Linked DNA regions of Homo sapiens: region 2 is linked to region 1. The links are contacts of gene promoters, found by promoter capture Hi-C in human tissues and cell types (Jung and others, 2019). All regions are on one chromosome and are shown on one strand. Each heading gives the region's core, a stretch centred on a gene start or on the middle of the fragment in contact. The rest is flanking DNA. Distances are from core to core; before and after follow the strand shown. Region 1 holds the start of ESCO1 (establishment of sister chromatid cohesion N-acetyltransferase 1). Region 2 overlaps RBBP8 (RB binding protein 8, endonuclease).

What was found. Contacts are between HindIII fragments. The study calls those that stand out against the background at their distance.
Region 2: a contact is called between a fragment that was not itself captured here and the fragment with the promoter of ESCO1 in region 1, in 1 of the 25 tissues and cell types used here (dorsolateral prefrontal cortex).

Annotation. Positions count from the first base shown.
Region 1 is chr18:21,598,409-21,602,962 of GRCh38, forward strand. It overlaps ESCO1 (establishment of sister chromatid cohesion N-acetyltransferase 1), which reads right to left and starts at 2,296. Exons shown (of 12, transcript NM_052911.3): 1 at 2,215-2,296. RefSeq lists enhancers at 640-934, 2,002-2,521, 3,846-3,925. The HindIII fragment of the contact is 11,871 bases long and covers 1-4,554 here.
Region 2 is chr18:22,934,560-22,939,153 of GRCh38, forward strand. RBBP8 (RB binding protein 8, endonuclease) reads left to right here. Exons shown (of 19, transcript NM_002894.3): 2 at 2,195-2,401. The coding sequence starts at 2,293. Among named protein-coding and RNA genes, the nearest start is that of RBBP8-AS1, 3.1 kb to the left of the region's middle. The HindIII fragment of the contact is 4,679 bases long and covers 1-4,023 here.

The sequences.
Region 1 (4,554 bases), core at 1,046-3,545:
AAATTACTTGGCCGGGCATGGTGGCTCACGCCTGTAATCCCAGCACTTTGGGAGGCCGAGGCAGGCGGATCACCTGAGGTCAGGAGTTCAAGACCAGCCTGGCCAACACGGTGAAACCCTATCTCTACTAAAAATACAAAAAAATTAGCCGGGCATGGTGGCACTTGTCTGTAATCCCAGCTACTCGGGAGGCCGAGGCAGGAGAATCACTTGAACCCAGGAGGCGGAGATTGCAGTGAGCCGAGATCTCGCCACTGCCCTCCAGCCCGGACGACAGAGTGAGACTCCATCTCAAAAAAAAAAAACAAACAATTACTTGTTCACTACAGGATTATAATATTGATTGAGAAAGGTGAGACAATAGCATATTTTCCTCAGTTAGCAATGATAAAGGAGTTCTAGCTCGTAAGCCAGGACAAATTTTGGAATTGTGCTTCCAAAGTCACATATCTGACCCAACAGTGATACTCTGCATTCTGCCTAAAAGGGAAAAAGTGGCTCTATTACAGTCCTAGTTTCCTCATTTCCTCACATGCTCTAGGCCTGAATTTGCGACTTCCAAATTAAGCACGTTTTAAAGCACTTCTCATCCTACTCCCATGTCTAATTCCATTGATTAGATTTTTTGCTTTTCAAAAAAAAAAAAAAATTCACCAGGCACAGTGGCTCAGGCCTGTAATCCCAGCACTTTTGGAGGCCCAGGTGATCACTTGATCCCAGGAGTTCGAGACCAGCCTGGGCAACATGGCGAAACGCCGTCTCAACAACAAATAGAAAACTTAGCCTAACATGGTAGCGGACGCCTGTAGTCTCAGCCACTCAGGGAGGCGGAGGTGGGAGGATTGCTTGGGGCCGGGGAGGGAGGTCAAGGCTGCAGTGAACAGTGATTACACCACTGCAATCCAGTCTGGGCGACAGAGCGAGACCCCGTCTCAAAATAAAATAATAACTTAAAACTTTATTCGTGTTGGTGTCCTGTGTAAAGCAGAAACTAAGTACTTGACCAGAAGACAAAGTGAATATAGCATAGTTCACTGCAACCTGGATGTTTTCAACTGAAATCTATGTTTTATCCACTTTTTTAAAAAAGCCAATGCTGGTGGGGGGACTAACCACACCTTATGCCACCAAGTAGCGCTTTTGTTTCCTGCGAAGCTTATTTATTGAGATATCGTTTTGTAATACTATCTAGATACTGTGTGCTGCGATTCCTGTTTAAAGGAATCTCATTGCAGCTAAGACTACAGAAAACATGGTTCATAGTACTTCTCAAATCGCAAAGCTTGAGCTCCTTCCTCCTCCTCTTCCTCCCTCCCCTGGTCCCCGCTGCGTCCCCATCGCCCCGGAAAATAAAGCACACGCCGGATTTTCGGACGCATCATTGAGAGGCGGAGGGAGAGGAGGTAGTCTTCGAATTGTTGGACTTGCTATCCCATTCTGCCTGTGCAAAATAAACCCCCATAGTAAAATAATCTTAACCCGTGATAAAAATCGAGGACCCAATTCTCTTTGGTTCGCCTCTCTCCATCGCTATAAACTTCACTGCGGCCCTCAATGCACTCATTTCTACTCCAGAGCCGCCCTACCTGTGCCGAGACCCCCATTTGCAGCATGAGTTACTCTATGACCTTGGGCCCGCTCCCCTCCCAAACTGAAGGCTGTAAAACCAAGACCCCACATCGCGCCCCGCAAACTGCAGAGGCCTCCAGGCTCAGGCCGGGTCAGCGGGTTGCGCCAGGAGGCGGCGAGGGACTGGCTCCGGTGAAGCGCCGGGAAGAGAAAACGCAGGGGGCGGAGACGGGGCCCGGAGCTACCTGCGGGACCAGCACTGGCGCTGCCCCGGTGCTAGCAATGGCTGCGCGCCACCTCGGGGCTCCCGGAGCCCTCGCGGCAGTGCTGGGAACTCCGGCCCTGCCCCGTCGGCGGTCACGACCCCTTATGAACTTCGACCGCCCAGCAAACAGCGGCAGGTGGTGCGCGGACACGCGAGCACGTTAGCTGCCTACCTCAAGCGACGGCGTCTTGGAGCCTAGAGCCTCCCACCTCCCTCCCAGGGGCGCGAAGAGCTGGGACCGGAGCAGTAGGAAGGGGCGTGCGAGGCAACACGCCACCGAGGGTGGAACAGGAAGAGGGAGAACTGTCCGCTCCCTGAAGGGGCTGGCAAAAGAGAGGTGAAGACACAGGCGGCGGGGACCGTCAGGGACGCTCGCGTACCTTCCTTTTGCCTGGCGGAGGGTCAGACTAGCGCCAGCGGATCGCCTCACATCCGGGTATCAGGAGACACTCAGCTGCTTCTGCTGCGGCCGCCGCCTCCCCCGCGGCGCAAACACCAAACTTCCGGCGACGACGGCGACGCCTCGCTCGTCAGATGGGAGTTACCTGTGACCGTCTTGGGTGCGCTTGCGCAACGCTCCTCTTCAGCCCTAACCGGCTCAGCTGACGTGCCCAGAAGACGAAGATGGCCGCCACGCTCACTGCGTGTCACGCAGTTTTTCACCCCGGCCCGGACGGCTGGGCGTCGAGGAAAGGCGAGCTAGTGTCCATCCTCAGCGCAGGCGCGGTGGGAGGCCTAGCGCGCGCGCCTCCGCGGGTGGTCGCCTGGCAGGGAAGTGGCGGCGCCCCCTAGCGGCGGCCGCTTGTCGTTCCTGGGGTCATCGCTTTGAGCTGAAAACCACCCAGGCCCCCAGCGGTTGTGGTTTACCTTGGAAATTTGTCGCAACTGGTTGCCATGTAGGTTTTGGCTGCTTCTGTCTGCGATGTATAATCCAAGTGCCTTTGGTCTTCCATATGAGCCAATGTAAAGAAGGAGGGTGGGGCCGGGCGCGGTGGTTCACGCCTGTAATCCCAGCACTTTGGGAAGCAGAGGCGGGTGGATCATTTGAGGTTAGGAGTTCGAGACCAGCCTGGCCAACATGGCCAACATGGTGAAACCCCGTCTCTACTAGAAATACAAAAATTAGCCGGGTGGTAGTGGCGTGCGACTGTAATCCCAGCTACTCGAGAGGCTGAGGCGGGAGAATCCCTTGAGCCTGGGAGGCGGAGGTTGTGGTGAGCTGAGACTGGGCCACTGCACTCTAGTCTGGACGAGTGAGACCCTGTCTCAAATAAAAAAAAAAGGAGGGTGCAGTCCCTACACTGCCCTCCAGCACCTCCAAAAAATGCAGGGCTTCGCCCTCTCCTTGCACACTTTCTTCCTGTGTATCAGAGTGCAAGAATCATCAGAAATTGTAAAATATTCTGCTAGACTTAGTCAGACTGAGTGTTCAGACAAAGCTTTGGCTCGCTCTTGGACGCCTCTAGAGATAGAATCCAAGATTCTATCACTAGGATTCATGGTTCCCACACTTCTTTCTTTTGTGACAGGAAGGATCTTGCTGTGTAGCCCTGGCTGGTGTGCAGTGGCACAGTAACGGCTCACTGCAGCCTCGACTTGGGCTCAAGCGATCCCACCTGCCTCAGCCTCCCTGAGAACTGCATGTATGAAGCCCACGACACCATGCCAGGCTAATTTTTTTTTTTTTTTTTGAGATGGAGTCTCACTCTTGTCACCCAGGCTAGAGTGCAATGGCACGATCTCGGCTCACTGCAACCTCCGCCTCCCAGGTTCAAGGAATTCTCCTGCCTCAGCCTCCTGAGTAGCTGGGACTACAGGTGCCTGCCACCATGCCCGGCTAATTTTTTATTTTTAGTAGAGACGGGGTTTCACCATCTTGGCCAGGCTGGTCTCGAACTTCTGACCTTGTGATCCCACCTGCCTCGGCCTCCCAAAGTGCTGGGATTACAGGCGTAAGCCACCGCGCCCGGCCGCCAGGCTAATTTTTTTATATTTTGTAGGGATAAGGTCTCACTGAGACCAGCCCAGGCTGATCTCGAACTCCTGGCCTCAAGTGATCCTCTCTTCTCTCCTTGGCTTCCCAAAGCGCTGGGACTACAGGCCTAAGCCACTGCTCCGGCTACTAGACTGCTTTTGAACATATGTTCTGTGCTACCCTTTGCTTATTTGCGGAACTGTGAGGCTAGTTCGGTACTTCTGCATTTCAGAATGGGAAGAGGTGATCATAAATGGGTTTTCCCCTTCCTGCCCTCCTTCTTTGAAGCCAAGTACAACCAAAATGTGCTCTAAGTTTGTCAAACCTGATGTTTTTCTGACAATTCATCTTCCACGAATAGTGAGCTGCCTGTCAGTTTGCGCAGGGAGATGTTATGGCTTAAAAACAAAAACGAGGCTGGGCGCAGTGGCTCACGTTTGTAATCCCAGCTGTTTGGGAGGTATTGATGGGTGAGGCCATTCTTCACATTACCATAGTTGTGTTACTTGGCAAAGACCTGTCCGCTGCTTCCACCTTCAGCTCCAGTCCCTGATACACACTTTAATGACATATGCCAAACAGCTCAAATTGGGGGCGGGGGGTGGGGCGGGGGAACAGGAGTAAACTACTGGTCTGGTTAAAAGCTGGTTATTTATCAGGAGACCTGACCTATGTTTCCCTTCATCTTCGTCTTCTGATTGCCAGACAACTGGTGGGACTTCTTTTGGTTGGATAAACTACTTTG
Region 2 (4,594 bases), core at 434-2,933, 1.3 Mb after region 1:
ATATGCACGACGTGCAGGTTTGTTACATATGCATACATGTGCCATGTTGGTGTGCTGCACCCATTAACTCGTCATTTACTTTAGGTATATCTCCTAATCCTATCCCTCCCCCCACCCCACGGCAGGCCCCGGTGTGTGACGTTCCCCTTCCTGTGTCCAGGTGTTCTCATTGTTCAGTTCCCACCTATGATTGAGAACATGCGGGCTACAGAGAGGTATTTTACAGTTATTGGTCTCATGACTTGATTTCCATCCCTGACATAGCCATGTCCCAGCTGTGTGACCTTGGACATTTACTGCCTTACGCCTCTTCCCCCAACTCTAAAATGAAATTATAGTAGCTGTCTTACAGAGTTTTTCTGAAGGTTAGGTAGAATATAAATATTCTATAATATATAATTATATATTAAATAATATATAAATACAAATATTAATATTAATATTCTATAGTTTCTGGTATGTGGGAAACAAATGGTGACTTTTATTCACAATTATATATAGGCCCATTTGTTTATCTGTTAGAGTTAAAGATAGAATAAAAACCTCTTTGGTAACAAAACTAATGCAGTGCACCTAATTCTACTTTTAAAAACTTTTTTACAGAAATAAATGTACACAAGAGAAATACTGGAATTATGAACCCCATTGTATACGCACCCACCCAGCTTCAGAAATTGTTGAAGTTCAGCCCTTGTTTCATCTCTTCACCCAACATCCATTTTTGTTTGTTTTTGCTGGATTTTTTTTTTTTCAAGCAAATCGCAGAGTATATCCCTTTACCTGTAAATATCTCGGTAAATATCCCTTTAACAGATAAGGCCTTTCTAAAAAAAAAACAAACAAAACCGCATCATTATCATACCCAAGAAAATTAATAATTTCCTAATATCTAAAATCCAGCTCATATTTAGTTTCTGGATTATTTTTTAAAAGTCTAATCACAATTTTTGCAAAGCTTGATAGTTTATTTTTGTAGCTCTTGACGGTTCACCAAGTGGCTTCACATATACTCCTGCTCCCTTCAGAATTACTCTTTCAGCCCCTTTGTCAGAGACCTCAGGAAATGGTTAGCAGGAAACAATCAGTTTGCTTTGGCTAAGGAGCCAGATGTGAGGTTTAGTAGACTTGCTGATCACTATTACTTTTTAAGTTGTAGCTAATTAATGGTTTCATTTTAAGAACACATATTAAAATATTTACTAATCCATTCAAACTTCTTAACCTGTTGGTTTCTTCAAGGACTATGTAATAAACTTAATGATTCACCTTTATTCTAAGAGAGGCATGAAGTAACATTACCCTAATTGTCTTATGACTCTAAGATGTTTCTGTATTCATAGATCTTTGCTGTGTTTAAATCTTACTGACTTCTCTTGTTTTTGGAAAGTTATACAGATCCTCATCTGTGTTAATACATCAGTCAACTGTCTCTTTTATAAAATATATATAGATATGTGTATATATGTGGATGCTTGTTAAGTCAAGACTAAGAATATTTTTCAGTTTTGGGCTCAGTATGTTTCACCAATTCAAAAGTTAAAAAAACCAATTTTTTTTTTTAATTGAGACAGGGTCTCTGTCGCTCAGGCTGGAATGCAGTGGCACGATCTCCGCTCACTGCAAATTCCGCCTCCCAGTTTCAGGCAATTCTCCTGCCTCAACCTCCTGAGTAGCTGGGGCCACAGGCACGCACTACCACACCTGGCAAATTTTTGTATTTTTAGTAAAGATGGGGTTTCACCATGGTGGCCAGGCTGATCTCAAACTCCTGGCCTCAAGTGATCTGCCCACCTCAGCCTCCCAAAGAGCTAGGATTACAGGCAAGAGCCATCTCCCCCAGCCAAAACAATACATTAGTCTATAGTGGTAAATTAATACTGACCATGAATGATAAAAACCCCTCAATATCTGAATCCTTTCTGTTTAATATAATTGAGATAATTTCTTCCTCTAAGAGAAATAAGAAAATTTGCCTGAAAATTTACCTCATATAGCCAAATAACTGAAATCAGAACTTTTCTCACCATTATCATCTTTCCTTATTCTTTCCTTCCCCTCCCAAATTCTAAAAATGATTGATTATAGGTAAATAAGGAAATGGTAAATGAGGATATCTGGGCTTGTGTTTCATCCTGATTTCAAAGTACATAAAGATAAATGCAAAGTTCATTTATGTTGCAATCTGTCATTTCAGGTATTTGACCTGTCCAAAGACGACTTGATACCTCTATAATGTAACAGAAAAGGTCAGAAAATATTAAGCAAGTAGAAGTGTGGAGCATATTAAGCAAGATGAACATCTCGGGAAGCAGCTGTGGAAGCCCTAACTCTGCAGATACATCTAGTGACTTTAAGGACCTTTGGACAAAACTAAAAGAATGTCATGATAGAGAAGTACAAGGTAAAATCTTTTCTTAAATACTTACAGCAGTATTTTGTTGAGACTGTAGTGGCTTTGTATACCTTTGTATGACAGTCCTGTTTATTATTTCTATTTCAGCTTTTAGGTTCCGGGGGTACATGTGCAGATTTGGTACATGGATAGATTGCATGTTGCTGGGGTTTGGTGTGCAAATGATTTCATCACCCAGGTAGTGAGCATGGTACCCCATAGGTAGTTTTTCAATCCCCACCCTCTTCCCACCCCCCTGACCCTCCACCCTCATGTAGGTCCCAGTACCTGTTGTTCCCCTCTTTGTGTCCATGTGTACTAAATGTGTAGCTCCCACTTATAAATGAGAACATGCAGTATTTCTGTTGTCTGCTCAGGGTAATGGCTTCATCTGCATCCATGTTGCTGCAAAGAAAATAATTTTGTTCTTTTTTATGGCTTCATTGTATTCCATGATGTATATATACTTTTTTTTAATTCAGTCCACTGTTGAATTTTGTACATTTAATGGCCATCTTTAAATTCAAAGATATCTTTTTTTTTTTTTTATTTTTTTTGAGACAGGGTCTCACTGTGTCACCAGGCTGGGGTGTAGTGGTGTGATCACAGCTCACTGCAGCTTCAACCTCCCATTCTCAAGTGAGCCTCCCTCCTGTAGTTGGGACCATAGGCACACGCTGCCATGCCTGGCTAATTTTTTATTTTTTGTAGAGTCAGGGTCTCACTATGTTGCCCAGGCTGGTCTTGAACTCCTGGCCTCAAGTGATCCTTCTGTCTCTGCCTCCCAAAGTGGTGGGATTACAGACGTGAGCCACTGCGCCTGGCCCAAAGATCTCATTATTTATTTATTTATTTATATATTCATGTATTTATTTATTTACTAATTAATTTTCAGAGAGGTTCTCACTCCGTTGCCCAGGCTGGAGTGCAGTGGTATGGTCACAGCTCACTGCAGCTTTAACCTCCCAGGCTCAGGTGTTCCTCCCACCTTAGCCTCCTGGGTACCTGGGACTACAGGTGTGCACCACCACGCCCAGCTAATTTTATGTATTTTTTGTAGAGACAGAGTTTTGCCTTTTTGCCCAGGCTGGTCTTGAACTTCTGGGCTCAAGCAGTCCACTGGCCTCAGCCTCCCAAAGTGCTAGGATTACAGGTGTCCGCTGCTGTGCCCAGCTGATCTTTTTTTCTTTTTCTTTTTGAGACAGGGTCTTGCTTTGTCACCCATGCTGGAGTGCAGTGGTGCAAACATGGCTCACTATAGTGTCAAACTCTCGGGCCCAAGTGATTGTCCCACCTCATCCTCCCAAGTAGTTGGGACTACAGGCGCACGCACCATGCCCAGCTAGTTTGTTTTTGTTTTTGTTTTTTTTAAACTTATCCTTCACCTTAGAACACCTAGCTAGTTTTTGTATTTTTTGTGGAGTCAGGGTTTCGCTATGTTGCCCAGGCTGGTCTCAAACTCCTGAGTTCAGGTGATCTCCCGCCTTGGCCTCCCAAACAGCTAGGATTACAGGCGTGAGCTGCGCCCAGCCAGATCTCATTTTTAGAGGACATTTACAATTGTAGTTTTTGTGATTCATTTTTATGGTCAAATTGGTGCTTTTTAACCACAGAACATAGTTTGTATACAACTTGCTGTTATTTACTTGTGGTAATATGTATGAGATAGTGGAAAACGTATACAATTTGTTGACTGAAGACCTGCATTTGAATTCTGATTTCATTTACCCACTTGCTCTGTGATCTTAGCCTAATTACCTAACCTCTAAATTTAATTTTCTTCTATAAAATTCTTTGCAGGATATAGACATAAAAATACTACATAAAGTCATTTGACAAACCCGTAGCACTGAAATACAAAAGTGAATGGCCACTTACCTTCAGACAGCCTGCAGTCTTAGTAGAGTCGTGTAAACAGATAATTACAGTACAGTGAAATAACAGTTAAAAGGTTTTTATGACGTGCAAGGAGTTTTAGAGGATTAAGCAATTGTGGTTGAGATGAGTAAATATTATTTGTGTTAAAAGATACACCATATGAAGCTAAGCTCAAGGTTTTAATATTAAATTTTAATATACTTTAATTCTGTAACTTTCCCTATGTCCCTATGTATGAGAAATGCTTCATATTACATTTGTTTCTTGATTACCTATTATAAGTTTAATATTGCAGTGCTTTATAGCTGTATCATTACACTGGAG